Linked DNA regions of Homo sapiens: regions 2, 3, 4, 5, 6 and 7 are each linked to region 1. Evidence: promoter capture Hi-C in 16 types of primary human blood cells and fetal thymus (Javierre and others, 2016). All regions are on one chromosome and are shown on one strand. Each heading gives the region's core, a stretch centred on a gene start or on the middle of the fragment in contact. The rest is flanking DNA. Distances are from core to core; before and after follow the strand shown.

Region 1 (4,321 bases), core at 1,330-3,829:
TAGTTTTGGCATGACTAGAAGCCTAGCTGTTCTTCATGAGAAATAATGGACTGAGATCATCAGAATTCTCTAAGAGCTATAACAAGAACATCTATAAAATTTAACCTCAGAAAACTTTTGAATAACTTCCTGACACTGGAGTATTTTTTATATTACATTTCCCTCTGCTATCTTTAATAAAATTAAATTGGTATCCCAATAAACAAAGTAACAAGAAAAAATGAGAGGTTCTAAGTTTCTCCCTGGTTCTCCTTTTTAATAATCAATTCATCTTAATTTATGCTAATAACAATTCAGTCAGAACACATCTGTTGAGGACCTTCCATTATGAGATACCATGCTTAGATACCACATGTGAGGTTTATGAATTGCATCTGGGTGGATAATATAATAGTATAAGATAGATGTAATATAGATTACATCTATATTAAGGGTATGGAAATGAAGTTCAACATCTAATAGAGAAGACAGACATTTACACAGATGTCATGCATTCATTCAACAAACATACTTAAGCACTATGCGCCCAGCTGTTAACAAGATAGACACAGTTCCTGCCTTTATGAGGCTTACATGAGACATGATGTGTTAAAAATAGAAGGCTGCAGAAGGTGCTATAGTCTTTGCCTCCACTGGGAAGGAGGGCTACAGAAAGCTTAGGAACAGTAAACTTAGTAAGAATAATAGCAACTAACCTTTATTGAGTGCTTAAAATGTGCCAGGCAAATATGTAAATTTATTTGGCTTTCACGTCAATCCTGAGGTCTTTTTATTATTAATGTTCCCTACTTGCGGATGAGGAGACTAAAACACAGAGATTAGGTAGCTTAATCACGCTTACAGATGTGGTGAGTGGTAGGCCTGGGATCCAGAGCTGCTCTGGAACTAAGCACGAATTTGCCAGATGGACACACACAAAAAAGGAATGGTAAGAGCACTCCGGGCACAGGGAAGTACAAGTACAGAGACATAAAAATGGTCAGAAACATGTAAGTTCAGTCTGCATACAGGCTGACTGGGAGAGTAACCAGAGTCCAGGCCTGCAAAGTGGGGCAAGCAGGGTACAGGTAGATGAAGAAAAGTGTTATGTGCCCCACAAGGAAGGGACTGCAGGAGTGTAGGCATGGGAGTGATGCCAATTGTGTCATTAATATCAGTAAGAATATCAATAGGAATGAAAGTGGCTGACATTACTTGAGAACCTCCTATAAGCCAGACATGGGCCAAATACTTACACACATTATCTCAGTTTAGCTTCACTACAATCTTATGAGGAAGGTATTATCCCATTTTACAAGTGAGAAGACTGAGCTTTAAAGGGAGCAACTAGATGAGGCGAGGTTCTACTGTTTATGAGTGATAGAGCTAGGATCCAAAACCAAGGAACTCTAAGGTCTGTGTTCTCCGCTGCCTGCTCGCCAGCGTGCATATTTAACGTGGAGGGGTAGGAGGGTGGCAGGCATGGCAGTGAGGGGGGCACTAAGGCACCCACCCAGGAAATAGGTGGCTAGATCTCGACCACAGGGTGCCAGCTGCAGGCTGCAGGAGAGGACATGTGAGAAACACGCATACAGAGGTAGCACCGGAGACGAAGTGGGATCTGGCAGCGAGAATGAAGGAAGAGTCGCGGATAACAGCAGCTGTCTGAAGAGGTGGTGATTCCATCATGCAAGCCAATGGGTAGGAACAAGCACTGAGAGCCGGGCAGGGGGATGCGGAGTGAGGGAAGATGCTGAGGTCAAGGTCTCCCAGGCTACCATGGAAGGAGCCAATGGGCAGCTAGAGATTTAGGTCTGGAACTGAGAGAAATAATCAGCTATGAAGGTACAGACTTGGCCACAAACATATTGAAGGCATGAGAGTGGTTGAATTTGTCCAGGGAGAATGTGAAGAACAGAAGGTGATAGAACTGTAGCAAAACCCAACTATTGAGGAAAATATTTTCATGCCTGCAAAAAGAGAGAGATCGAACTGCCTCCTTTAGAAACCTACTTGGGAAAGGGCTTTCTTTACAAGTAAGGCAAGTTGTCATTACTGGTGGGGGAAAAAAATTGGTACTGCGAAACCAACTTATTTCCTACCACATGTGAGGTTTTGAATAATATCTGGGTGGCATATTTCTGCTGAAGAAAATAAGCCAGTTCAATGGTGTATCTATTAAATAAAAATAGTGCTAATAGTTTATCAGAGTTATCACCACAGACGTGCCTAGCCACCCTGAGCCTATGTGGCCAATGTCAGTAATTCCACTCTGGACACAAACACTGTTGGCTTTGGATGGAAGTGCCGGACACTCACAGCACTCCGAGGACATACTGTTTTCTAGCCTTATTTATGTTCTCTCTTCACCCTTCAGCCTAAAAAATTACCACAGTGCCACTTACCTACCTTAATGGGAATCTGCACAAAAGGCCATTTCTCCAGTTTCTCTCAAAAGCAAAGGAAAACTTCCCAATATTAATATGTAGCAAAAAGAGGGAGAAGAAAAAGCCTGTTTGGTCCGCCCTCCTGGCTGTTGCTACCTTGCAGCTTATGACATACACATAGAGGGAGGTCTGATGAAATGAACGAGACAGTCAGAGAGCTACTCCATTCCCGTGGAAACCAGGAGTCCCTTGGTGCAGACAGCTCTTCCTACTTTCCCATGCAGTTCTTTTGTGCGACTTTGAGGGGCTCGTGAATGATTTCTAAATGTGTGCCTGCTGAGGCGAGCCGCACAGGGAGGGAGGAACCCAGCCGAGCCGTGCCAGAGGAAGCCAACAGGATCCTAGCAGTGCGGGAGCTGGCTCAGCTCTTGCATGCAGTTTTTGAAGTCAGCAAAACAGAAACCAAATTACTATCATATTATGCTGGTGGAAGATCAAGAAGAGGGGACTCTACACCAGTTTAATTACTGTGAGAGATGCAGCGAGTCACAGAATAACAAATGTATCTCATGTGTGGACCCTGAAGACAAATGTAAGTTCTCATGCCGCTATATTTTATTGCTGTGTAATTTTCTTTCCGGTTTGAAATCATGCTTGGCCAACATGTAATCATTTCAATGAGAATTTCCAGGGAGGAAAGTTGTCTGCTAATCTTTACTTAAGACTTTTTTGTTTTCCTTTTATTAGCTAAGCAACATTATAGGAGCTGAAATTCCTGACAGCAGCTGTGGCAATTCAGCTTAAGAATGGCTGAGAACTGTAACCCAAAGTACATCCAATTACTATGGGATTAACACTGGATGTATTTTTAATTGACTTTCTTAATGTAGAATGTGTACATCCCCACTGTTTCTGATTGCATGCTATTTTAATAATACTGTTGCTAAACTAGTACCATCGGCATAACCAACAAAATGAGATATAGTTAAACAAGAGTCCCAGTAGTTATAAAACTTTTCTTCTTTGTCCAGGACATTTATCTTCCCGAGCGCTCAAAAAAAACCCTGCAACCTCTATGCTAAAAGTTCATTCTGCTTTTTTGTCCTCGGTTTGGTGAGAAAATAATAAAACCAAACAGTGGACTCTCCTAAAATTGTGAATGAAGAAAACTTACAGCCACCACAGTTCAGTTCTTTAACTATCATTGTAATAATGGAAGACAAAAATCCAGCCCCGGGAGAACAGCATGTACACCAGCCTCAGTGTTACAGAGTGTGGGTACATCAAGGTGAATGGTGAGCAGAAACTATAACCTGTTAGTCCTTCTACACCTCATCTGCTACAAGTTCTGGCTTAGACATGGATATTCTTTGTGAAGAAAATACTTCTTTGAGCTCAACTACGAACTCCCTAATGCAATTAAATGATGACACCAGGCTCTACAGTAATGACTTTAACTCCGGAGAAGCTAACACTTCTGATGCATTTAACTGGACAGTCGACTCTGAAAATCGAACCAACCTTTCCTGTGAAGGGTGCCTCTCACCGTCGTGTCTCTCCTTACTTCATCTCCAGGAAAAAAACTGGTCTGCTTTACTGACAGCCGTAGTGATTATTCTAACTATTGCTGGAAACATACTCGTCATCATGGCAGTGTCCCTAGAGAAAAAGCTGCAGAATGCCACCAACTATTTCCTGATGTCACTTGCCATAGCTGATATGCTGCTGGGTTTCCTTGTCATGCCCGTGTCCATGTTAACCATCCTGTATGGTGAGTGGCATTAGTTTCCCAGCTATATTCGCACTGGTAATAAAGAGCATGTGCATGCCACCAGCAGATGAGATGGGGCTCAGGGGGCAAACAAACTATAAATAGAAGTCTTTGTTTATAGACTAGAGCCTACTATGTTACTTATATTTTACTCTTAAAATGGGATTTCACATAAAAATCAGAC
Region 2 (4,321 bases), core at 876-3,375, 710 kb before region 1:
AGGGATTCTTCCTAAATTTTGCTTCCAAACCCTAAGCCCCAGAGAATAAATCAAAAGAGAGATTAGGTTATTAAAATTTTTTTTTTTGGTCAAACATTTTCAAGACTAAAGATTGTTCCAGACTAAAGAGCAATTTGATCCTGGGCTTTAGGGAAAAGAAGGGTGGTTATGGTGGTGTCATCGGTGGTAGTAGTGGTGATAGCGTTGGAGGTGGTGGTGATGGTGGTGATGGTGGTAGTGGTAGTGGGGAAGGTGGTGATTGTCGACTTGGTAGAGATGGTGGTGGTGGTGGTGTGTTAGTGATGGTATAGTGGTAAGGGTCATGCATCATTTTCCAAGCAGTGCTACCAGTAGATGAGAGGACCTTAAAGAAGTTTATGATGCTCTAGAGAGTGGAAACCTGTGCTTTCCAGAATCACTGCTGGAGATGCAAGGTGCTGGGTGTGGCCACATATTATATTAGATACAGCCATAATCAGGTTTGTAGAAAGCATCTCAGGAACTGACACACTGGGAAAAACCACAACTTTTCAGTAAAGTTCATGAAAGACTAAAGGATCCAGTGGTCCTTCCAGCACCTTAGCATGATGCTAAATTTCAACTCAACTTCTCAGGGTAACAAAAGGAGAGAAACAAAACAACTGGGATTAAATTCTCCTGCCAGCCCAGCAGAATAGGGCCCAAAATAGAAATTGAGTAGTTGAAAGTAAAGGAGGCTATAATGCTTACACACAGAAATTTACAGACTGAGATTCATTCATTTAACACAACATTGACATAGAGCCTTGTAGAATGGAACTTGAATCAACATTTTAAGTTTTTTTAATGTCCATTTTTTACTATTTCTTATCCTATCACATTTCATTTTATCTTTTAATTCTATTTTAATTTTTTTATTGAGGTAAAATACACAAAATTTATCATCTTTCCCATTTTTAAGGGTACCATTCAGTGGTAATATGTACATTTATATTATTTTTTCCCCCCTTTCTTACCCCTTCTCCCTAGTTTTCCTGGCCTCTGGTAACCACCAATCTACTCTCTATCTTCATGAGATCTACTTTTTTAGCTTCCAATATGAGTGAGAACATGCAATATTTGTCTCTCTGTGCATGGTTTATTTCACTTAAGATAACAGCCTACCTCTAGTTTCATCCATGTAGCTGCAAATGACAGGATTTCATTTTTTTATGGCTGAATCACATTCTGTTATGTATATAAATCAGATTTCCTTTATCCATTTATCCATTGATGAGCTCTTAGGTTGATTCCATATTTGGCTATTGTGAGTAGTGCTGAAATAAACATGGGAGGGCCGATATCTCTTCAATATATTGATTTCCTTTCTTTTTATATATACCCAGTAGTGGAACTGCTGGATCATACAGGGGTTCTATTTTTAAGTTTTTTGAGGAACCTCTATACTGTTCTCCATAGTGGCAGTACTCATTTATATTCCCACCAACAATGTATGAGGGTTCCCCTCTCTCCACATCCTCACCAGTATCTTTTATTGTCTGTCTTTTTGATAAAAGTCATTTTAGCTAAAATGAGATGATATCTCATTGTGGTTTTGATTTGTATTTCTCTGATGATTAGTGATACTGAGCATTTTTCATATACCTGTTGGCCATTTGCATGTCTTCTTTTGGGAAATGTCTGTTCAGATATTTTGCCCATTTTTAATCAATTATTTGTTTTTCTTGCTATTGAGTTGTTTGAGCTCCTTCTATATCCTGGTTATTAATCCCTTATCAGATGGACAATTTGCAAATATCTTCTGCCCTGCTGTACGTTTTCTCTTCACTTTATTTCTTTTGCTGTGCAGAAGCTGTTTAGCTTGATGGAATACTATTTGCCTATTTTTGCTTTGGTTGTCTGTGCTTTGGGGTCTTACACAAAAATTCTTTGCCCAGACCAATGAAGCATTGCTCAATTTTTTTCTAATATTTTCATGGTTTCAGGTTTTAAATTTAAGTCTTTAACCATTTTAAATATGATTTTTGTGTATGGTGAAAGATAGGGGTCTAGTTTCATTCTTCTGCATGTAATTATCTAGTAGTAAGTAGTAGCATGTAGTTATCCCAGCACCATTTATTGAAGACACTGTCCTTTCCCAACAAATGTTTTTGGCGCCTTTGTTAAAGATGAGTTGATTGTAAATGCATGAATTCATATTTGGGTTCTCTATTCTGTTCCAACGGTCTATGTCTATTTTTAAGCCAGTAACATGCAATTTCGATTACTATAGCTTTGTAGTAAATTTTGAAGTCAGGGAGCATGATGCCTCCAGTTTTATTCTTTTCACGTAGGATTGCTTTGACTGTTTGAGCACTCTTGTGGTTCTATATGAATGTTGAATTGTTTTTCTATTTATGTGAATAATGTCATTGGTATTTTGATAGTGATTGTGTTGAATCTATAAATTACTTTGGATAGCATGTCTACTTGAACAATATTAATTGTGTCTTCTTCAATATTTTCATCAGAGTTTTATAGTTTTTTTGTATAGCTGTGTCACCTATTTGGTTAGATTGATTCGTAAGTATTTTCTATTCTTTGTAGTATTGTAAACGGGATTGCTTTCTTTATTTCTTCAGATTGTTCACTGTCGGTATTTATAAATGCTACTGATTTTTGTATGTGGACTTTATATCCTGCAACTTTACCAAATTTGTTTATTATTTCTAAAGTTTTTTTTTGTTAATTCTTTAGGTTTACCTAGGTATAAGATCATGTTGTCTGTGAGCAAGGCTCATTTGACTTCCTCCTTTCTAATTTGGATACCCTTTATTTCTTTTTCTTGCCTAATTTCTCTGGCAAAGACTTCCAGTATTGTGTTGAACAAAAAGTGGCTAAAGTGGGCATCCTTGTCTTATTACAATCCTTGGAGGAAAGGCCTTCAATTTTTCTATGTTCACTATAATGTTAGCTGTGGGTTTCTTATATATAGTCTTTATTATTTTGAGATGTGTTTTTGTCTACATTCAATTTGATGACAGTTTTTCATCATAAAGAGATGTTGAATTTTATCAAATGTTTTTTCAGCATCTATTGAGACAACCATGATTTTTGTTCTTGATTATATTAATGTGATGTATCATGTTTATTGATTTGCGCATGTTGAACCATCCTTGTACCCTTGTGATGAATCCTACTTAATCATGGTGAATGATCTTTTTAATGTGTTGTTGTATTTGGTTTGCTAGTATTTTGTTGAAGATTTTTACATCTATGTTCATCAACGATATTGACCTGTAGTTTTCTTGTTGTGCCCTTATCTGATTTTGATATCAAGGTAATAATGGCTCTGTAAATGAGTTTGAAAGTATTCCCTCTATTCAATTTTTTTTTGAAGAGTTTCAGATTGAGATTATTCTTTAGATGTCGGGTAGAATTCAGCAGCGAATCCATCAGATCCTGGTCTTTTCTTTGATGAGAGACATTTTTATTATGGCATCAATCTTGTTATTTGTTATTGGTTTGTGGAAGTTTTCTATTTCTTCATGGTTCAATCTTGGTTGTATGTGTCAAGGAATTTATCAGTTTCTTGTAAGTTTTCCAATTTGTTGGCATATAGTTGTTCCTAATTATCTCTAATGATTCTCTGTATTTCTGAGGTCTCAGTTGTTATGTCTCCTTTTTTCATTTCTGATTTTATTTGAATCTTCTCTCTTGTCTTAGTGTTGCTAAGCATTTGTCAATTTTGTTAGTCTTATCAAAAAAACCCAACTTTTCATTTTGTTTATCTTATGTACTGATTTTTTGGTCTTAATTTCATTATTTTTTCCCCTGACCTTTATTATTTGTTTTCTTCTATTAGTTTTGGGTTTGTTCTTGATTTTCTAGTTCATTGAGTTGCATTGTTAGTCTGTTTATTTGAAGTCCTTCTACTTTTATGATATAGCCATTTATTATTATATAAATTCCCTCTTAGTACTATTTTTGCTGTATGCCATAGATCTTAGTATGTTGTATTTCCATTTTCTTTCAAGAAATTATTAAAATTTTCTTAATTTATTTTTATTGACCCATCGTTCATGCAGAAGCATGTTATTTAGTTTCCATGTGTTTGTGTATTTCCCAAGGTTTCTCTTATTGATTTCCAGTTTTATTCCACTGTGGTCAGAAAAGATACTCGATATGATTCCTTTTATTTTGAATTCATTCAGACTTGTGTGGTGGATTAAAATATGGATTATTCTGGAAAATATACCTCCATATGCTGATGAAAAGAAAGTGTATTCTGCAGAAGTTGGGTGACATGTTCCATAAATGCCAGTTAGGCCTATTCGATCCGGGGTGCAGTTTAACTCCAATG
Region 3 (4,321 bases), core at 1,032-3,531, 690 kb before region 1:
AAGGCACCATCTTGGAAACAGTGTTCACCAGACACTAGACCTGCTGGAACCTTGATTTTGGACTTCACAGCCTCCAGAATTGTAAGATACACATTTCTATTCTTCATAAACTACACAGAGTATTTTGTTATAGCAGGCCAAACAAATTTATACCAAGAAACTGGGTAATGGGTGGATGCTGGAAGATTGTAGCGGTGGAGGCTAGAAAAAGCCTACATTGCCATGGTAATTCTGGTGAGAGCTCAGAAGATGAGGAGAGCTGTAAACAGAGCCTGAATCTTCTTAAGATGATCTGAGTGGTTATGATCAGAATGCTGGTAGAAAGATGGAAAGTAAAGATCATTCTAATGAGATTTTAGATGGAAATGAGGAATATCTTATTGAAAACTGGAAGAAAGGCCATCCTTGTTATGAAGTGGCAAAGAATTTGGCTGCATTATGTCCATGTCCTAATGCTCTGTAGAAGGCAGAACTTAAGAGCAATAAACTAGGATATTTGGCAGAAGAAATCTCTAAGCAAAGTGTTCAGGGTGCCACATGGCTTTTCTCAGCTGCTTATAGTGAAATTTGAAAAGAGAGAAAATAATGAAAGACAGAAGTTATAGTCAAAAGAGAAGCAGAATTTAAAGAGTTGAAAAATTCTTAGCCTGGCCATATAAAGAATGACAAACTGAGTTTGGGAGAGAATACCAAGGGTGTGACAAAGCTACACTTGAAAAGAAGATTAGTATAAATAGGTGGAAGTCAGGTGCTAGTCATTAAGACAATGGAAGAATGACTCCAGAGGCATTTTGGAGTTGTTCTAGGCTGCCACTCCCATTACAGGCCCAGAGTGCAGAATGATTTCAAGAGAGGGACCTCAGAGCTCACTGCTCAGGGCCTTCTCAAGTTTCTGCTCCCTGAATTTCAAAGCAGCATTCCTTAGTGTCACTAGCTGTGCCTCAAATGCGCCTCAGTGGGGCTTGGGTCCCTGCTTCAGAAGATACAGGCCATAAACCTTGATGGTGTTTGTAAGGTGCTAACTCTGCAGGTGTACAGAGTGCATTAGCTGAGGGAGCATGACTACCTGCACCTAGATTTCAAAGGTGCCTCAGAGAACCTTGAGGCCCACGCTTTGGACCTGCTGCAGGAGTGGGGCTACCACAGAGAGCTCCAATTAGGGCAGTGCCCAGCAGAGCCCTAGGGTCAGGGCCACTGCAGAGAGCCCCAACTTAGGGCAATGCCTAGTGGAGCCACTGGAGCAGGGCCATCCCTGAGACCCCAGGCCTGAAAAGCCACCTGTGTGCAATGCCAGCTTGGGAGAGCTGTAGGCCTCTGACTCAAACCTGTTAGAGTTGCAGTGTGGGCTGTGTCCAGAAAAGCCATTGGGCAGGGTACCCTGGACTCTTGGGAATGCAACTCCTGCCCCAGTATGTCTGAAAAGTGGGACATGGAGTCAAAGAAGATTATTCTCAAGCTTTAAGATTTAATGTTATTTTCCCTGTTGGGTTTTGGACCTCCTTGAGACCTGTTACCCCTTTATGCTTGCCTAGTTTTCTCTTGTGGAATGGGAATGCCTATCGTATGTTTGTGCCACGATTATATTTTGGAAGTGCATACTTGCTTGATTTCACAAACAAGCTGATTTTACAGCTGGAGAGATATTTGCCTTAGGTTGCATTGTGCCTTGAGTCTCACCCATATCAGATTTAGATGATATTTAGATGAGACTTTGGACTCAAACTTGAAAGTTGATACTGGAATGAGTTAAGAATATTTCGAGCTATTGGGATGGAATGAATGTATTTTGTATGTGAGAAGAACATGAATTTTAGGAGACCAGGGGCAGAAAGCCATGGTTTGGATGATAGTATTCTCTCCAAAATTCAAATAGAAACTTAATCTCCAATACAACAGTATTAAGAGGTGTGGCCTTTGGGAGGTGATTATGTTGTGAGGGCACCACCCTTGATATAGTTTCAATGTATGTCTCCACCCAAATCTTTTTTTTTTTTTTTATTATACTTCAAGTTCTAGGGTACATGTGCACAATGTGCAGGTTTGTTACATATGTATGCACGTGCCATGTTGGTGTGCTACACCCATTAACTCGTCATTTACATTAGGTATTTCTCCTAATGTTATCCCTGCCCCCTTCCCCCACCCCATGACAGGCCCTGGTGTGTGATGTTCTCCACCCTGTGTTCAAGTGTTCTGATTGTTCAATTCCCACCTATGAGTGAGAACATGTGGTGTTTGGTTTTCTGTCCTTGTGATAGTTTGCTCAGAATGATGTTTTCCAGCTTCATCCATGTCCCTATGAAGGACATGAACTCATCCTTTTTTATGGCTGCATAGTATTCCATAGTGTATATGTGCCACATTTTCTTAATCCAGTCTATCATTGATGGACAATTGGGTTGGTTCCAGGTCTTTGCTATTGTGAATAGTGCCACAATAAACATACGTGTGTCTTTATAGCAGCATGATTTATAATCCTTTGGGTATATACCCAGTAATGGGATGGCTGGGTCAAATGGTATTTCTAGTTCTAGATCCTTGAGGAATCGCCACACTGTCTTGCACAATGATTGAACTAGTTTACAGTCCCATCAACAGTGTAAAAGTGTTCCTATTTCTCCACATCCTCTCCAGCACCTGTTTCCTTTTTTAATGATCACCATTCTAACTGGTGTGAGATGGTATCTCATTGTGGTTTTGATTTGCTTTTCTCTGATGGCCAGTGATGATGAGCATTTTTCCTGTGTCTGTTGGCTGCATAAATGTCTTATTTTGAAAAGTGTCTGTTCATATCCTTCACCCACTTTTTGATGGGGTTGTTTGATTTTTTTCTTGTAAATTTGTTTAAGTTTGTACAAATCTTATATTAAAATGTAATCTGCAAGGTGGGAGGTGGGGCCTGGTGGGAGGTGACTGGATTATGGGGGCAGTTTTCTGATGAATGGTTAGCACCATCCCCCTTGGTACTATCCTCATGATAGTGAGTGAGTTCTTGTGAGATCTGGTTGTTTAAAGGCATGTAGCATCTCCCCCCTCACTCTTGCTTCTGTTCTGGTCATGTGACATGCCTGCTACCCCTTCACCTTCTGCCATGATTGTAAGCTTCCTGAGGCCTCCTCAGAAGCTGAGCAGATGCCAGCACCATACTTCCTGTGCTGCCTGCAGAACCAATTAAACCTCTTGTCTTTAAATTACCCAGTCTTAGGTATTTCTTTATAACAATGTGAGAATGGACAAGTACAACTCTTATGAGTGGGATTAGCGCTTCTACAAAAGGACTCAAGGTTGAAAGAGATGCACTCTTGCCCTTCCACCTTCCTCCATGTAAGGATACAACAAGGCAGCATTCTGGAAGCAGAGAGCAGCCCTCACCATACACCAATTCCAGTGCCTTGATCTTGTACTTCCCTGCCTCCAGAACTATAATAAATAAATTTTTGTTCTTTATAAATTGTCCAGTCTAAGGTGTTTTCTTACGGACAAGACAATGTGGAATTGGAATAAGTATTAATTATCTGGGGAAATTAGCAAAAATATTGGAAAAAACTGATGAGAAATCTTTTAGAGCAGATTTTTACAATATAGATATAAAAATCTATCTTCTTTACTGTATTCTTTCTTAAAAAAAAATTTTTTTTTTCATATTTTCCTTACCCTTGAATCCCCAGAGCTACAAGATGAAGTCCATTGTCTCCTTGTATTTCTCCTGATGCATTCAATCTAATCCCTAACATTTGCCATATTAGTTTTGTCTGCCCCCACCCCCAGTCCCAGGAGAAGATAATCCTTCCCTAGGGCAGTACAGCCAATTACTGCTTTTCTTCCTACTACTGGCACCTCTGCTGCATCCGGTGCCTCAGCACCCACATCTTATTGGTTTCTGTAGTTTTGGCCAATAGGAGATCACTAAGCGTTGGTGCCAAGGAATGCACAAAGATTATCTGAGCCTGAACATTATTGGATGTGTCTGCACCAACTCCCCATCCCTTTTCCTGTCACTGAAATCAAATCCTACTAAAAACACTGATATATGTGTATGTGTGTGTGTGTGTGTGTTTGTATACATGTGCACATATGTGTGGCAGATTCTCATTTGTTACTCAGAATGACTACATCTCTTTGGAGCAGCAACAAAAAAAATATGAGCAATTTCCCTGAACCCCAAAGCATGATTTAATCTGATTATTAAAGGAACTTTTCTCTCTACCCCTAGTTGCTCACTGGCTCCTGAGGGTGGCATATCTCATTTTCATGGCGAGAAGGAGCTCAGTTCATTCTCTGAATGTATTTTTTCCTCAAAAGCAACAATAATTTCTGGGAT
Region 4 (4,321 bases), core at 1,000-3,499, 650 kb before region 1:
CTTTTTGTCATGGCTTTCTCTTCGTGACCTTACTCAGATCTGTTTCTTTCTCCTGAGTCTAAATGAATGAATCAGGCCTATATTAAGTCAGGGCCGGTGAAATAAATGGGCATTATTTAATGAAAGTAATTTCAACTTTGAGCAAAATTCTGCTTTAGTTTTTCCCTTTTCCATCTGGCATGGTAGTCCCCATGTGGCTTCTGAGGCAGCCTCTGCCCTTATGATGCCCCTTCTGCCTCTCAGGCTAGGGGGTTGTGTTCTCAACCACATTTTGGGACTGGATCTCTCCTCCGTCACCCTCCTGGCTGATGTGCTTTTCTATGAGCAAATCATGGTTCACATTTCTTTTCCTTTTCTTTCAGACTAGCTCTGAAATTCAAGTTTCATTTTCCCTTTCTGGATATATAAAGGCAAGCCTACAGATCGATTTCAGCTATTGGATCTTTCGTGAGGCCAATTTCTTGAGAAGGCTATTTGCAGAACTGGTTCCTAGAGCTCCAGCCTGCTCTACCAGCCAGGCCCTACATTGCGGGTGGAATCTGTTCAGGCAAAGTAATTCTTAGAGCATACAGCAGATATCATGCGGTCAGTGTCAGTGACTTGTGAGATTGTTTTCAGTATCAACTGGGCATTGATAGGGACTTCTAGTGAGCCTCTAAAGTTTCCAATTTGGTAAATCTCAAGTATTAAACCACTTCTGACACATTCCAATCTTGACTTTCTTTGTTTCTAATTATGTGTAGAAATAGATGTGCTTATTCCACAAGCCCTAAAAAGTGGTAATAAGAAGAGATTAGATGGGTCTTAGGACAGGAATTGGGTGATACTTTTTTCTATTGGTAGATAGGTAAAAGGAAAAGGGAAAAGAAAGCAACTCTGACTGCATTTCTCATGTCGTTTTTGGTAATAAGCAAATGTGAGATGTGGATACAAGCTGATATATATCTATTTATATTGGTGTACATATGTTCCTCTTTTGTGCATGTTATGTAGAATCTGCCTCTTATTTTGTCATCACAACTAATATGCATAACCATGGCACAAAGTCTTCTACAGTGGACTGATAACAAGTGAAATCCTTCACATCTCAAATGAAGCTGATGTTCCATTCAGTGTTAGCATATGGTCACCTACAAAACCCTGTCTGTCTGTGAAATCTGAATTGTGTATATTTTGTTCTAGGTCTGGTAAAAAAAAATTCCCTCACTTTAAGCATGTTTCTTTGAATTTATCTTTGCTCATCTGCATCCCTGATAACTAGTGAAACTAAGGTGCTTGAAAATGATTGCTGGCATGTTTGTAATTCTTATAAGGAAGGATAGGAAGCATCTAGGAAACAAAAGGTTTCTGAGTAATATAATCAAAGAAAACAAAACCCACCATATTCTGGCTTCTATAAATAATGTAAACATCAGTGGTCATAATAAGCAGCCATGGAGTTGAAACAACAGTTGCACAGAGGTTTTACTCCCCTTCCTTGGAACAGAGATATGTTTGGTAATGGCTATGGTCTGAATGTTTGTGTCCCCTCCACATTCATATGTTGAAACCTAATCACTAATGTGGTGGTATTAGGAGGTGGGGGGTCTTTGGTAGGTGATTTAATCCCGAGGGAGGAGCCCTCATGAATGAGATTAGTGCCTTTTTAAAAGAGGCCGGGCGCGGTGGCTCATGCCTGTAATCCCAGCACTTTGGGAGGGCAAGGTGGGCAGATCACAAGGTCAGGAGATCGAGACCATCCTGGCCAACACAATGAAACCCCGTCTCTACTAAAAATACAAAAAATTAGCTGGTCATGGTGGCGGGCACCTGTAGTCCCAGTTACTCGGGAGGCTGAGGCAGGAGAATGGCATGAACCCGGGAGGCGGAGCTTGCAGTGAGCCGAGGTCACGCCACTGCACTCCAGCCTGGGGGACAGAGCGAGACTCTGTCTGAGAAAAAAAAAAAAAAAAAAAAAGAGGCCCCAGTGGATGCAGCGAGAAGCCTCTATCTATAAATAAGGAAATGGGATCTCACCAGTTACTGAACTCGCCAATACCTTAATCTGGGACCTTCCAACCTCCAGAACTGTGAGAAATAAATTTGTGTTGTTTATAAGTCACCAAATGTATGGTATTTTGTTACAGTAGCCCCAATGCGCTAAGACAATATTTTTAAAAGCAATAATAGGATCATGGAATATGTTGATTCAAATGTTCCATGGGGATCTGTCTTTAGTACAAAAAATGTCATGTTTATAATAATACAGACATTTAAATTCAGATCTCAGAAAAATTAAGGTATATTCTTATTTTGAATTTCACCCAGGTAATACTCTAGTTAGACTATTTGAGAAACATGAAAGTACAATCTCATTAATAACTTAATTTTAGCAATGAGAGAGCTCTGATGGGCACCTTCATGTCCTAGGTAAAATGTGCTTTTTTGTTTTGTTTTGCATTACTCTTCTAGACTTAGTGTCTTTATTTTCACTGTTTCCCAGAGAAAGAATAATAGTGAGAACTTCAAGCCTGGTAAGAGAGGAGGCTTTATACCAGGGATAAATAGAAAACCAAATTAGAGAAAGGAGGCTTCAAGAACTCATAAGCATACTTCCCGTTCAGGTTGGTAAGTAATTAAAGCAGTCATTGGGTGGTCATTCTTCAGCTACTGATCCATCTGGGAATGGCTCCTATACTCCTGGGCACATTATGGGCACATTATAGGCACATCGCCTGACACCTTAAACTCGTGAAGCCTCTGCCCTAGTTTTCTGCTTGGAGGGCTTTTAGTCTCTCTAGAATGTCCAAAGGGGAGCTTTCCTGCTGCATTTCTTTCAAATCCATTTGAAACCCTTACACCTGAGTTCTTGTTCAGATACAAGGCACAAGGGTGGTATGCATCAAAATGTTGGAACCACCCAGAATTGTGACCCATCCCTCACCTGGGGATATGAAACTATCAATTACTGCAACAGGAAGCACCTATAATGAAATCCCGAGGAGAAACTGAAGGAAAGAACACCCTGTCATTAGCTCCTCACATATACACATAAAGGTGGGAAGAGCAAACTGGAGCGTGGATAAAGCAATACGTGGTATTTACAGAAAATCATTTTTCAGCCAAGGTTAACTAATAATTATAACAGTAAGTATCACTTATTAAATGCTTACTTTGTGCCAGACACTGCTAATCACTCCCTCTGGACTATCTCATTCAGTCCTCACAACATCCATGAGAGGTAGGTACTATTATCCTGTCTTATAAGGAAACAGAGCTTTAGAGAGGTTATTCTGTTGTTTGATTTTTTAAGACAGACTCTTTTTAAAATATTTTGTCAGATGTCATCACACTGCATCTGAAAAATGGAGTCTTACAATTGCTTCAGCCAGCTAGAGTCATGTCTGTTCAGGCAGAGACATCAAGAGTGACAGGACAACCTGCAGAATGTGTACCAAAGATTTAGAAGAAAATCCCAGGGGGCAGTGGTGAGGCTTTAATCCTCAAGAGCCAAATGGGTTGTGGGGATGGTGAGAGAGACGGTATATTAGATTTTGTTAGCACCATTTTCCAATTTGGAATTAAACGTTGGCTAGCTCTGCATAACTGTGAAGTCAGCTCCTGTAGCTTGAGGTTTCCTTACAAAACACTGCATTACCCATGCTCTGGATGGACACCGAAATGATAGGGTGTGGAAAAACATAGTTGTCCAGTGATTCAGAAGAGTCAAACTGTGTGTGTGAACAGGTTTTAGAAATACATTAACCAATTTCTTTCACACATATTTTCCTTTTAACATACACACAAATGATGTATGATAAAAACCCATGGCTAATTAAATGTAGGCTTTCATTCTAAAATAAAGTGTTCAGCAGATAAAAGGCATTATGTCATAATCTATAATCGCTAATGTCTTCAATATAATCACCAGTGTCTTCAATTTATTAGGTAAATGCCTAGGACGAGATAGAGAGAAAGGTTTGTCTGCCTCTAGATATCAAGTTCTGAACATTAAGCCATAGTGTATTCACTAACACTGTTTTAAAAGTTCCTTTGTTGCAGACAAGCATGGCAAGACCACTACCTCTCTTTGGTTGCTACATCTGACACACAAAAGTAATAACAATAATAAAAATGTCATGTTAAATTTGTGTTGCTCTTCAGTTTGCACAGCTGTTTTGTTAATTTAACTTGTTGACTCTTTACAACAATGCTATGAATTGGAAATTGTTTTCATCCCCCATTACATGTCAAAACAGAGTTCCAGATGAATCCTCACACGTATTGGCTGATTTATGGTACGTTTCCTAGGAAAAGGTCTGTGAGCTGGAAATGTTTATTC
Region 5 (4,321 bases), core at 535-3,034, 630 kb before region 1:
CCCTTCAGAACCTCCAGGGAAAAACAAGCCCTGCTGGCACCTTGATTTAAGCCCAGTGAGAAACATTTCAGACTTCCAACTTCCAGAACTCTGAGAAAATAAATTTGTGTTGTTTTAAACCACTAAGCTTCTGGTCATTTGTTACTGCAGCAATAGAAAATGAATGCAGCCATTATTCACAAGGAATGTTCCACCAGTGTTACTAAGGCACAAGCGTGAGGATCAATATTGTTACATGTAACACTAAGGACACAGTTGTAAATGAACAGATTCAAAGACAAGATTCTGGGGAAGATAATACTATGCACATAAACATAATTAAAGCTTCTAAGGTCTAATATCAGTATTTGAAATACATAAAGGAAATGATCAGAATGATCAGAATAAAGAGAATACACCAAAAAAAAAGTAACTTGAATATGAGTAAAGCCCTGTTACATCCAAAGGAAGACTATATTGGAAATCATGGCAAAGATCTTGGGCTGCTGGGACAAAACCCCTAAAACCTCAGCATATAAAAGATTTATAAAAAGTCTTTCAAGCAGATTGGTAGCTTCCTCTATTATCTAGTTGCCTGACCCCAAGTTAGCTTTCCTGGGAGCAGACAGTCATTCTGTAAAACCTTCTATAGAACTGAACCTCTTAGATCTCAGTTAAGCTGAGTTTCATATAAAAGGTGACAGGTCCTTGGGGCTGAGAGCAGGATTTCACTTTTTTGGCTTGGCTTTTTTAGCACAGTTCACATGATTAGCATTAAAGAGGAGAACAAAGGATGAGAAGAGGTAAGGTTCCCAGGCTAGGTCAGGCTCAGGACAACTTTTTGCTGCATGGTGCCGAAAATGGGTAGATTGTTTTCTTGCTGTTAGTTGGCTGAGGTATATCAAACCTTGAAACTGCCCAATTTTATGGAACAAAAGATCACACAAGCCTAAGAGAATCAATAAATAAAGTGCTGGCAATAGAATTTCTTCCAGTGAAACAGGCACATTGAATTTCTCAGGAAATGATTTCAATTCCTAGAGAAAACTGTATTCAGCTTCTTGATTATTGTACAATTTATCTCAGGGGTTTTTCATTCTCTTTGGAGTAAAGTGTTTGCTTTCCAGAGAAAACAGCAAACCATTAATTAAAGCTGCTTCAAAGCAGTAAAATAGTAGACCAAAGCAAACTGGTATGAAGTATGTAGACTCTGCTGATTAGAGTTGTTTCTAATAAAATGCATCTTGGAAAAAGGTAATATATTTGTTAAGAAACTCAGCCAGATGAATAGAAAAATATAGAAAACAGTATTTTCTGACTGTAGCAAAGATAATACATTATTTTGCTCTGAGGGTCCAGAGCAAGTAGGGTGCTAATGGCCATGTGAAACATTTTGGCCTTTAGCTATGGGAAAATAAAAAGCTTTTGAAGAGTTCTGTGTGGGGTGGGGGTGTAATATAACTAGATTTGCATTTTGAAAAGGTTATTCTGGTACCATGTGGAGAATGGATTGGAAAGGGGCAAAGGTAGATAGGAGAAGCTAATTAGGAGAATGCTGCAGTAGACCAGGCTAGAGATAATGGCATATTTGGGGCTTAGGGGACAATAATGGAACCAGAGAAAGGTGAAAAAAATTCAGAGAGACTTGGGAAAGAATACGAAATAACTTATTAATGACTTGAATATGGAAGGAGGTATTAAGAACTCCTAAATTATCAATGCTTGGAGCAACAAGGTTATATAGCTTTTAAACATTTAGCATCCATTGATTTGATTGATTGATTGATAGGCTCTAGCTAAGCTCTGCAGGCTGGAGTGCAGTGTTGGGATCACAGCTCACTGCAGCCTACATTGTCTGGGCTCAACAATCTTCCCACCTCAGTTTCCCAAGGAGCTGTGACCACACACGCACACCACCATGCCTGGGTGATTTTTTAAAAAATTTTTTGTAGAGATGGGGTCTCCCTCTGTTGCCTAGGCTGGGCTTGAATTTCTGGGCTAGAGTGATCCTCCCACCTTGGCCTCCCAAAACTGTTGGAATTACAGGAGTGAGCCATCATGTCCAGCCCCTTTTCAATCTTTAAACTGTGTTTTAGATACAAATGTTCCCAGCTGACACTTTGCAAAAATTATAAATTGCACTAAAATGTGGAGATTTGGGGAAGAAATCTGTCCTGGGAAAGCTTAGAAGTTAAAAATCAATATTGAAACATACTTTTATTTATTTACAAAACTTGGTATAAAACTTAGTTCTCTAAGATCATGCCAATAGTCCACTTTATCTCCAACACTTAATTCCAGTTTAATGAAGGAATTGGATGATTACTTCAGAATTTTGAAATAAAAAATTATCCTGAATAAGAAAAGTTAGTTACTTTCTGCTATTTTAAAGTACCAGAATTTATAAAATACACTTACCCTGAGATCTTCTTGGTCAAAGTTTCATAGTATCATAAATTCTGGTAAAGCTGATATGTCACAACTATTTTTGGAGTCCATGTCACCTCTGATGTCTATTTCTGGTTGCCGTGGCTATGAGAAGTGGGTGTCCCAGAAATAGGATGACTTACATTTTTGTTTACTCATGTTATCTTGACTCTACTTTTTAATAAACATTGCTGTTACTATAAAAAATATCTCAGTTTGGGCTGGGTGTGGTGGCTCAAGCCTGTAATCCTAGTCAGACCCTATCAGTGCTCCTCAAAGCTCAAGTCCATCAGTGCAGGGCCATACAACTAATACCCCTACTTATAGGGTTAGGAATGGCTACTGCTACAGAAACCAGAATAGTAGGTTTATCTACTGCATTATCCTACTACCACACACTATCAAAGGATTTCTCAGACAGTTTGCAAGAAATAACAAAATCTATCCTTACTCTACGGTCCCAAATAGACTCTTTGGCAGCAGTGACTCTCCAAAACCGCTGAGGCCTAGACCTCCTTACTGCTGAGAAAGGAGGACTTTGCCCCTTCTTAGGGGAAGAGTGTTGTTTTTACACTAACCAGTCAGGGATCATACGAGATGCCACCCAGCATTTACAGGAAAAGGCTTCTGACATCAGGCAACACCTTTCAAACTCTTATACCAACCTCTGGAGTTGGGCAACATGGCTTCTCCCCTTTCTAGGTCCTGTGACAGCCATCTTGCTATTACTCGCCTTCGGGCTCTGTGTTTTTAACCTCCTTATCAAATTTGTTTCCTCCAGGATCGAGGCCATCAAGCTACTGATGGTCTTACGAATGGAACCCCAAATGAGCTCAACTAACAACTTCTACCGAGGACCCCCTGGACCAACCCACTGACCCTTTGGCTGGCCTAGAGAGTTCCCCTCTGGAGGACACTAACACTGCAGGGCCCCTTCTTCGCCCCTATCCAGCAGTAAGTAGCTAGAGCGGTCATCACCCAATTCCCAACAGCAGTTGGGGTGTCCTGTTTAGAGGGGGGATTGACAGATGAAGCCAGTTGGACTTCCTGGGTCAAGTGGGCACTTGGAGAACTTTTCTGTCTAGCTGGAGGATTGTAAACGCGCCAATCAGTGCCCTGTGTCTAGCTAGAGGATTGTAAATGCACCAATCAGCACTCTGTAAAATGGACCAATCAGAGCTCTGTAAAATGGACCAATCAGCAGGACATGGGCAGGGACAAATAAGGAAATAATAGCTGGCCACCCCAGCCAGCAGCGGCAGCCTGCTGGGGTCCCATTGCACATTGTGGAAGCTTTGCTCTTTCGCTCTTCACAATAAATCTAGCTGCTGCTCACTCTTTGGGTCCATGCCACCTTTAAGAGCCGTAACACTCACCATGAAGGTCTGTGGCTTCATTCTTGAAGTCAGCGAGACCAAGAACCCACTGGAAGGAACTAACTTCAGACACACTAGCACTTTGGGAGGCTGAGGTGGGTGGATTGCCTGAGCTCAGGAGTTCGAGACCAGCCTGGGCAACATGGTGAAACACTTGTCTCTACTAAAATACAAAAAATTAGCTGGGCGTGGTGGCACACGCCTGTAATCCCAGCTACTCAGGAGGCTGAGACAGGAGAATCATTTGAACCTGGGAGGCAGAGGTTGCAGTGAGCCGAGATCATGCCACTGCACCCCAGCCTGGGCAACAGAGTGAGACTCCAGCTGAAAAAAAAAAAAAAATCTCGGTTTTGGGGGCTAACTTAAATGGACATCTGACCACGAGATCAAAAAGGAATTTCAGCATAAAGGAAAGTTACTGGTCAGCAAGTAATCACGGCTTTTGGTAGGCAACATATTATATGGTAATTATCTCATTTGCTTCATATTTAACATCATAAAGATGGCCCATTCTGAAATTTTATTACCAAATATCGATT
Region 6 (4,321 bases), core at 286-2,785, 600 kb before region 1:
TGAGAGAATGCTTTCATTTCCTCTGCCTCTCCCATCATCAACCACCCTACTCCAGCTCTCTCCTCTCCACTGATTTCCTGGGCTCTGTCCTGCTGCCTCGTGCCCAGACAGTCTCTTTTTTCAGGGTTACGTGCTCCAGTAGTCAAGCCTCACTCACTCTCAATTTAGATGTCACATTGGCAGTGAGGCTATTGACTATCAGCACAAACCCATCTTCCTTACTCTGTTTTCCTGTGATGGGGCTGGAACCCTGCAATTCACATTTAGTTTTTGCCATGTGGCTCCCTGTTTGGTTCTTCACTGGTGGAGGCTAAAAGGAGGAAAGGAGAAGGAACTTACTCTTTCCTGCTTTGCTTCCTGTTGCTGTCAACATCGTCTCAGAATTAGCTCTTCATGCTGGACGTGGCAGTCTGTTCTACTTTACAGTTTCATCCACACTTCCAGAGGCAGCCTGGTTGCCACCCTCCGAGCAGCCAGCACCAGCCTGCACCAGCCAGCAGTTTCCCCTCTTTACAGGTCTGGTTCCCAGTTCTGCAGGACTTCTCACCCAAGCTTTTAAATTCTAGTAATCCCCAAAGCGTTCATTGTTCCTCAGCCCTGGGGGTGGTAGCTGTGCTTCTCACATTTACTTCCTCTGTGACAATTCACCGTCTCCCTTTGCCTTTGCTGTTCTCTATAATTGTCTATATCAAATTCTCTGCTAAAATAACTAGGTGGTTTCAATATCCTGGCTGTACTCTGCCTGATAACAGTCAAAGCTCCCCCTAAGTGTCCCACTCCAAAGCCTTCCTATAAGTTGGACCTCACATGACCCAGGCCAGTGGCTGGTGCAGTCCTACTTGGAAGTAGGAGATTGGGCTTGAAGGCCTTTCTTTGCTCCTTTCTTCACTGATACTACTTTGATGGTGAGTCTGGAGGGTCATTCATATCCCAGGGTATTTTGTGAAAATTTCCTAACTCTGATTTATACGTAACCTCCCAGGATGGTCCACATTTCCTCTTCAGGCCTCAGGCTCTTGGGAAGTTAAACTCTCTTCTGAGAAATATACCACCTTGAAAGTAAGTTGTATTTCAATGGCCAAGCAATTCCTTGGGAATAAAAAGTGGCTGAAGGCTAAATGAAGACAAATGGATTGCTTATGCTTGAAAAACTTATGTAGTATACACATGGGAAATTCAAGTTCTTTCCAAAGAGCTGGTGGGTTTATAAAGTGCATGTAAATTTTCAACTTGGACTTTAATCTGTTTGGTATATGACGAATGGATTTTTCTAAATAGCTATACTAGGGCCACAATTTTTAGCTTAGTTATCTATGATTTTTTCATTAAAAAAAGTACAGTTTGTTCTGTGCTTTTATTTTATTGGTTACCAGAGGTGTAAATTTATTTTAAAATTCTCATCATATATCAGGCACCCAGTGAATTCCTTCAAAATGTTTATGTACCTTGTCTTCCTAAGCAGGAGAGGAATACAGGCAGGGTTGTGTGATGACAGTGATGAATGAGCAGTGCCTGGAGCAGGGGCCAGGATGAAGGGAGGAGATGCTTTGTAGTCTCTCCTTTTCAACTCAATGCTGGATGAGAAGCATTTTGTATAAAGGTTCATTTTGTAATTTCTGGAAAAGCCTGGATGACTGAATCTTTTAAAGTGGCAAATGGTTAGAACTCTTTAGAAAATCTGTTATTTGTCAAATTAACATCAGAAATCCTTAAACGGGAATGTTGTAGAGAGTGTGTGTGTGTGTGTGTGTGTGTGTGTGTTACTAAGTTCATCCAATCACAGTATATTCAAATCATGGTAAAAGGGTGAGTTTACTTTCATTAGTATGTGTGTGTGTATATATATATATACATATATATATATACACACACATATCTACACATATATATGTGTATATATGTATTTAATATAGATTTTTTAAAGCATTTTTAGATTCATTGCAAAATTTAACAGAAAGTAGAGTTCCCATATAGCCCCTGCCTCCACACACCCACAGACTCCCCCACTATCAACTGGTGACATTGTCAGTGTTTGGGATTTTTGCCATTCTAACAGGTATGTAAGACATCTCGTTACTGTTTTAATTTGCCTTACCCTAATGACATATGATGTTGAACACGTTTTCACACGCTTATTGCCACCTGTATATCTTCTTTGGTGAGGTGTCTATTCAGATCTTTTCCCCATTTTAAAATTTATTTTCTTTCTTGTTGAGTTTTAAGCATTCATCATATATTTTAGACAACAGTCCTTTATCAGATGTGTCTTTTGCAAATATTTTCTGTGTCTTCTTGTTCTCTTGATATTGGTATATTGTTAAAGTACTGTATATATACATGTAGTTTTAAGTATAGGAAGACATTTTATATACATTATTTTATGTGATGATGCTCACAATAATCTCATACCATTGTTATCAGCCTTTGTTCCCTCCCCACCCCATAAAATGGGGATAATAATATCTCTTTCAGCATTGTGAGAATTAAATGAGTAAATACACATACGTGTAAAGCTTAGAACAGTGCCTGATACACCATACACGCTATAGAAGTGTTAGCTGTTGTTATTCTTGCTTTGAAAATGAAACTAAGACACAATCAGTGGGAAGGGAAGCCACTACTTGTTCTCAAAACGTTCTACTCCAATTGCAGTGCTCTTTCAACTGCAGCACTAAAGAAAGAACAGAGTGACAAGCTCATAAAGTTGCTCTTCTCTTACACAGTATGACTGAAGTTGCCCCTGCCTTTCCCTGGGGACAAGCTTTGATATCAGGAACATATTCCTTTGGATTTTTAAGGGTTTTTGCTTCTGATCTGAGTAGTAGCATTAGTCCATTAGCAGTTATTTGTTGAGGGACTGATCTTAAAGATTCAAAGTGATGGAGGACCTGTTAGGAATCGACTATTTCAGACTCTGCGGCATCTAATAAACCTCAGGTAGGGAAATCAGTGAGGCATAAAGAGATTGATTGACTGGGCAGGGTGCGGTGGCTCATGCCTGTAATCCCAGCACTTTGGGAGGCTGAGGCGGGCGGATCACGAGGTTGGGACATCAAGACCATCCTGGCTAACATGGTGAAACCCCGTCTCTCTTAAAAATTCAAAAAAAAAAAAAAATTAGCCAGGCGTGGTGGCGGGCACCTGTAGTCCCAGCTACTCGGGAGGCTGAGGCAGGAGAATGGCGTGAACCCGGGAGGCGGAGCTTGCATTGAGCCGAGTTCACGCCACTGCACTCCAGCCTGGGCGACAGAGTGAGACTCTGTCTCAAAAAAAAAAAAAAAAAAAAGAGATTGATTGACTTTTCCTATATTCCATTGACTCATGTGCAGAAACACAACTGCAACTTAGATCTCCAGGTACTTAATTGGGTGATCTTTCCATTTCACCATCCTCCTACTTGCTTTTGATTCTCCTCCTTCCTTTCCTTCTTCCCTCCCTTCATCCTTCCTAATCCACTTCTATTTCTTCTTTACCTTGTGTGCTATATGAAATATAATTAAGATACAGAAAAGTGCTACACACACATACACACACACACAGCCTTTATAAAGCAAACTCCCACAAATCACCACCCCAGGTCAAACTGGCCCCTTGGAAGCCACCATGTACTCCTCCCTGATCACCAACCATTCTCTCCGTTAACCCCACTGAAGGCAGCCAGTACCCTGACTTTTGAGTGTCATCATTTACTTGCTGTTTTGTAGTTTCACCGTTTTTGTGTGCATTTCTATTGAAAATAAGTTAGTTTTGTCTATTTTTACAGCTGTTTAAATATATTATTGAAATACAATAAACTGCACATATTTAAAATACACATTTTGGTACATTTTGACATACGCACACTCATGAAACCATCATCATGATTAAGATAAGGCACATATCCATCATACCAACAGTTTCCTCATGCATCTTTGTATTTCCTTTTTTGGGTTGCTCCCTCCCCCCTGTTTCATTCTCCTCACACAGCTTTCTCTAGACGATCACTGATCTGCTTCCTGTCATTATTGATTTGTTAGCATTTTCTAGAATTTCATATGAATAGAATCAATGGATATTTACTCTTTTCTGTCTGGCTTCATTCATTCTAGCAGGTATACAGTGATATTTTATTGTGCTTTGAGTTTGCATTTCCCTAATGATTAATAATACTGAGCATCTTTTCATGTGTTTGTTATCTGTGTATCTGCTTTGGTGGAATGTCAACATCTTTTGCATTTTTTTATTGAGTTCTATGTTTTATTGAGTTGTAAGTGTCCTCTGTATATTCTGAACACACTTTGGTTAATATATATATTTTGAAAATATTTTTCTGTAAGTGTGT
Region 7 (4,321 bases), core at 484-2,983, 570 kb before region 1:
GGAGTTGTTCAGTTTCCTGCAGGGAGGCCCCAACCAGTGAGGTTGGATGAGTCAGAGTCAGGCCTGAAGAGGCGCTCTGGCTGCAGTCTGCCACAGCCAGTGTGTTGGGCTGTGGGGGACACCACTTGGGACCAAGCCATCCAGCCTCCTTGGCTCCATCAGGGGAAAAGCATGGCTTGGAGCTATAGAGATGGATGCCGCCCTTCCCCCACCCAGGAAGCTTAGCGTATTAGGCCGTTATGAGTCCCAGTGCTGGCTGCTTCTCCGCCCACAAGGAGCTCAAACAGCTCAGACAGGAGGCAGCTGCAGCTGTGGTGCTGGTTGCCCCTCTCCCTGAAGACTTGGTAGGCTTGAGTAGATTCTAGCTGAGAGGCAGTTGAGAATCTGCACGGCTCCAGAGTTGGGACCCTAGGCCCCAGTGGCATGGGTTCGTAAGTGGGTCTTCAGCTCCATGGGGCGCACAGTTCCATGGAAAAAGCACGGTTTCCCCAGGGGGTGGCACACTCACTCACTGCCTCCTTTGGCGGGGGTGCTGGGGTTCCCCTGCTCCCTGTGGCTCTCAGGTGGGCTGCTGCACCACACTGCTCTTCCTTCCTCTCTGTGGATCATGCCAGCTGCCTAGTCAGTTCTGATGAGAGAACCTGGATACCTAGGTTGTTGGTGCAGGATTCACATGCTATTATGGTTCTTTTTGACAGGAGCCTCGATTGTGGCTGCTTCTAGTCAGCTGTCTTGCTCCCCACCCTCTTATGGAATTTTCATTGTCAAACTGTTCAGAATAAGAGTTCTGCCTGACCCAGGTGACCATCGCTACAGAAGAGGGCTCCCTTCCACATGAACCTTGGTCTTTGCTTTGGCATGGCCATCCATCCTTCTTATGCCTTTTCTGCCCAGGAGCATGCTGGTCCAGCCAACTGAGAAATGGATTAACAGCTCCTGGGTGGTGAGAGAAAAAGCTGCTGGCCACCTGCCACTTGCCATGTGACCTTACTTAAGTCACTCACCCCCTGTGATTAGACTTCTTCATCTGGAATAGGGAGCAGGTGACATAAACCGTGTGGCTAGTGCACCATTTTGCAAATCATCTCTTATATAATGATAATGGTGGTCAACAGGAGCAATAGGTATAGTCATCTTTTTGAAATAAAGCATCAGAAGAATGCAATTGGCAAAATAAGAAAGGAAGAAACAGAGAATAGAAAAGTGTTGGAGGCCGAAAGAATGAGAGTCGTGACCAACTCAGTGTACCACTGGAGGCTATATGAGTAAACAGCAAACTGTTCTCATGAAAGCAGGTTGTTAGCAAACTGACAAACTGCGTCTGCCACCCAGAGGGAATGCTGAGGGCAGTCGCGCCCCAGGCGCAGTGTTTCTTGTGATTAGGCACATCTGAAGCCTGTTAGCAATAATGTGAGCCTGTGATCAATCAAGCAGCTGACCAGTTGTTAGCTCCTCCTCCCTGCTCTTTCTGCCCAATAAATACAAAGGGCTGTGGAAGCTCAAGGCCCTTGCTCCCTAGAAGGAAGGAGCCCCCTGACCCTTTCTTTAAAACAGTTTCTTTTGTCTTAAGTTTTCATTTCTGCATTCATCCTCCTTCATTCAGTCTCATAGTAACTGTTGCAGAAAAGTATGAGTGGATGTCCCTCAATTGAAGAAAAGAAAGAAAGTGACAGAAAAGGCACAGATTAGAAATCGGTGAATAAAAAGTCACAAATTACTGGATTACAGTCACAAAACCTAAAGGGAAGTGTGTTCTGTCAAACACATGGGTGAACAACCAAAATCATAGAGGTCATGAAGCCCCACATGGATTTATTTAATTTATAAATTTAAGATGACCATTCCTTCTTCTCCCTCATAAACTAATATTATGTTGGGGCTAATAAGGTGAAGCTGTGGGGTGATTTACTATAACTATAAAAATTTCACTTTCTTAAAACACCTCTTTTTTTTCCATTTCCTGATACCTGCAACTCATTTGCCTGAAAACAAGATAATAGAGCTACTGACATTCATATTCATGAAAATGACTCACACCAGGTCTGTTTCTGGGAGCTGTTTTGATAAGGAAGGAGGCAGAGGAGAGAGCAAGAGGGCATCAAGCTACAAGGAAAATGACCTAAGGGATGTGGCAGAGGTGGGGGACGAAGTGATCTGGAGTCACCTTCATATCTATTGGGAACAACATTTCTGAATTTCTGTTGAGACTGCTGAGAAACATGAGAATGGTAAAAAAAAAAAAAAAAAAAAAAAAAAAAAAGACATGTAAATCTAGAAAAAACAGCTTCTAGACAATGTGGAAACTGTTGGCAGTTTTTAAAAATGCTAGGATTATTATTTCTATTATGAAGAGAAAATTGAGTATAATGAATAAATTCCTGGTTTCCATAGCAAGTTCAACTTCTTCATGCTGGGTATAAATAATAAATATATTGTTGTTACTGAAAATGTTTTCAGTTATGCCACATACATTAAAGACTGATAATTACATTAATGCAATATTGAAGTTATTAATACGAACTTTCAAAGAGATTATTTTTCATGAAGGCCAGGAGTTTTAGCTGAGAGTAACTGAGAGTAATTTTTTTTTGTTTTGCTTTTTTCCCCAACACAGAGTCTTACTCTGTCACCCAGGCTGGAGTACAGTGGCGCGATCTCGGCTCACTGCAACCTCCGTCTCCCGGGTTCAGGCAATTCTCCTGCCTCAGCCTCCCGAGTAGCTGAGATTACAGGTGCCCACCACCACACCTGGCTAATTTTTGTATTTTTAGTAGACACAGGGTTTCACCATGTTGGCCAGGCTGGTCTCGAACTCCTGAACTCATGATTTGCCTGCTTCAGCCTCCCAAAGTGCTGGGATTACAGGCATGAGCCACCGTGCTCAGCCAACTGAGAGTAATTTTTTTAACTGCAATGTAGAACAAGAATCTTCCTATGTGCAAAATAGTTTCATTTTTAAGAAACTGTTAGATTTATGTGGATTGTTAGCTTTTAGGCTGTAATGATCATTACCAAAAACAAATATACCTATCAACTTTTTATATTGATAAACAGTTTGTGTGTTTGGTTTTTGTTTTGGGTGGTACATACAAGAATAATTAAGAGTATAAATAGCACTCTGGATGGATTTCCATTATTCATGGTATTCCTATCTGCTCTTAGAATGAGTGGATAATGACCAGGGATTTCCCAGGGTGGTGGAATTCCCAATTATGATTTTTTTAGATATGAAATATAGGAAGCTTGATGCAGTCAGCAAATATCATCTCATAAAGCCACACTTTTCTTATCCACATTGAAAACACAATCCTTTTACCCTCTGTCCACCACTAAACACCTCCAAGGTTGGCCCCAGCAAGGAACTGTACTCACTCAAACCATCTCTGGGCAAAGGAAATTCGTGGAAACATATCACTACTACAGGAATTATCTGGGTCATAAACTAAAAAAGAAAAACAAATGCAAGGAAACTACATTTTAATTCCCCATTAAGCCATATGAAATGTGTATTAGGCTAATGTACCTAATATAGGCTGGCAATTCAACCAGAGGAGCTGCTCAGAGGATATTGAAATAAGTCATTTTGCTAATTCTAAAGAGTTTCTATAGATATGTACTGGATTTCTTTTTAATTATTCTGCATCTGTTTAGAGATATGCACTTTCCAGCTATGTAATTGGATTTTAAGTACTTTTACATTACTATAAATAAAGTGTTACATGCAATTACATTGAAAAATCTGCAGTGCAAAAGCAAAGCTGCAGCCCACAGGTTACCGCACTTCAGCATATGGAGGATGCGCTTCTTATGGGGTGATGATAGTCAAATTAAAAAGAACACTTTACTCCTTGAGCTAGATAATAGGCTGATTATATTTAAAGCATATTCACTTCCCACAATCATCTGGTAGGAAAGATGGAACTGCTCAAACTTCATCTCCACTGGACAGTATCGTGACTGGAAGGAATTATTAGTGGAAGAGAAGTATAAACTCACCCAAGATCTAGATCCAGAATGCTAATCAGACTTTTGAAGAGAGAGATTTATTTTTGTCCCGCTTTCAGACCTGACTTGTTTTTTCCCCACCCCAGTATAAAAGCTGCGACTTTCAATCTGTGGGGAAAATTTTGGGAAAAGGATTATGAGATATGTGTCCTTAGTATTATAAGTCTGAACCCCTTTTGGCATTAGCCCACACCACAGGAGGCCACATTAAAGCCCTCTTTCTCCAGTTTCAGTTGGTAATAATTTCAGGTTCTTTCTCACAGCTACCAATGCAAGAGGCAGCTAATCCTAAAGGCTTTTGTTATGAAAAGTGCTC

The links. The method cuts DNA at HindIII sites, captures the fragments that hold promoters and counts their contacts. A CHiCAGO score of 5 or more calls a contact.
Region 2: a fragment that was not itself captured here is called in contact with the fragment with the promoter of HTR2A in region 1 in 3 of 17 cell types (M2 macrophages, M0 macrophages and M1 macrophages); the score reaches 9.9 in M2 macrophages.
Region 3: a contact is called between a fragment that was not itself captured here and the fragment with the promoter of HTR2A in region 1, in 3 of 17 cell types (M2 macrophages, M0 macrophages and M1 macrophages). The highest score is 6.6, in M2 macrophages.
Region 4: a fragment that was not itself captured here is called in contact with the fragment with the promoter of HTR2A in region 1 in 1 of 17 cell types (M2 macrophages); the score reaches 6.7 in M2 macrophages.
Region 5: a contact is called between a fragment that was not itself captured here and the fragment with the promoter of HTR2A in region 1, in 2 of 17 cell types (M0 macrophages and M1 macrophages). The highest score is 6.7, in M0 macrophages.
Region 6: a fragment that was not itself captured here is called in contact with the fragment with the promoter of HTR2A in region 1 in 3 of 17 cell types (megakaryocytes, M0 macrophages and M2 macrophages); the score reaches 7.0 in megakaryocytes.
Region 7: a fragment that was not itself captured here is called in contact with the fragment with the promoter of HTR2A in region 1 in 5 of 17 cell types (M2 macrophages, M0 macrophages, M1 macrophages and 2 more); the score reaches 16.6 in M2 macrophages.

What each region holds. Positions count from the first base shown.
Region 1 is chr13:46,895,311-46,899,631 of GRCh38, reverse strand. It overlaps HTR2A (5-hydroxytryptamine receptor 2A), which reads left to right and starts at 2,579. Exons shown (of 4, transcript NM_000621.5): 1 at 2,579-2,958; 2 at 3,398-4,137. The coding sequence starts at 3,726. The HindIII fragment of the contact is 5,377 bases long and covers 658-4,321 here.
Region 2 is chr13:47,606,828-47,611,148 of GRCh38, reverse strand. No RefSeq gene overlaps it. Among named protein-coding and RNA genes, the nearest start is that of LINC00562, 320 kb to the left of the region's middle. The HindIII fragment of the contact is 6,911 bases long and covers 1-4,321 here.
Region 3 is chr13:47,589,372-47,593,692 of GRCh38, reverse strand. No RefSeq gene overlaps it. Among named protein-coding and RNA genes, the nearest start is that of LINC00562, 340 kb to the left of the region's middle. The HindIII fragment of the contact is 1,646 bases long and covers 1,459-3,104 here.
Region 4 is chr13:47,548,564-47,552,884 of GRCh38, reverse strand. No RefSeq gene overlaps it. Among named protein-coding and RNA genes, the nearest start is that of LINC00562, 380 kb to the left of the region's middle. The HindIII fragment of the contact is 4,880 bases long and covers 1-4,321 here.
Region 5 is chr13:47,520,471-47,524,791 of GRCh38, reverse strand. No RefSeq gene overlaps it. Among named protein-coding and RNA genes, the nearest start is that of LINC00562, 410 kb to the left of the region's middle. RefSeq lists an enhancer at 2,258-3,457. The HindIII fragment of the contact is 761 bases long and covers 1,404-2,164 here.
Region 6 is chr13:47,494,399-47,498,719 of GRCh38, reverse strand. No RefSeq gene overlaps it. Among named protein-coding and RNA genes, the nearest start is that of LINC00562, 440 kb to the left of the region's middle. The HindIII fragment of the contact is 1,961 bases long and covers 555-2,515 here.
Region 7 is chr13:47,459,733-47,464,053 of GRCh38, reverse strand. No RefSeq gene overlaps it. Among named protein-coding and RNA genes, the nearest start is that of LINC00562, 470 kb to the left of the region's middle. The HindIII fragment of the contact is 3,022 bases long and covers 223-3,244 here.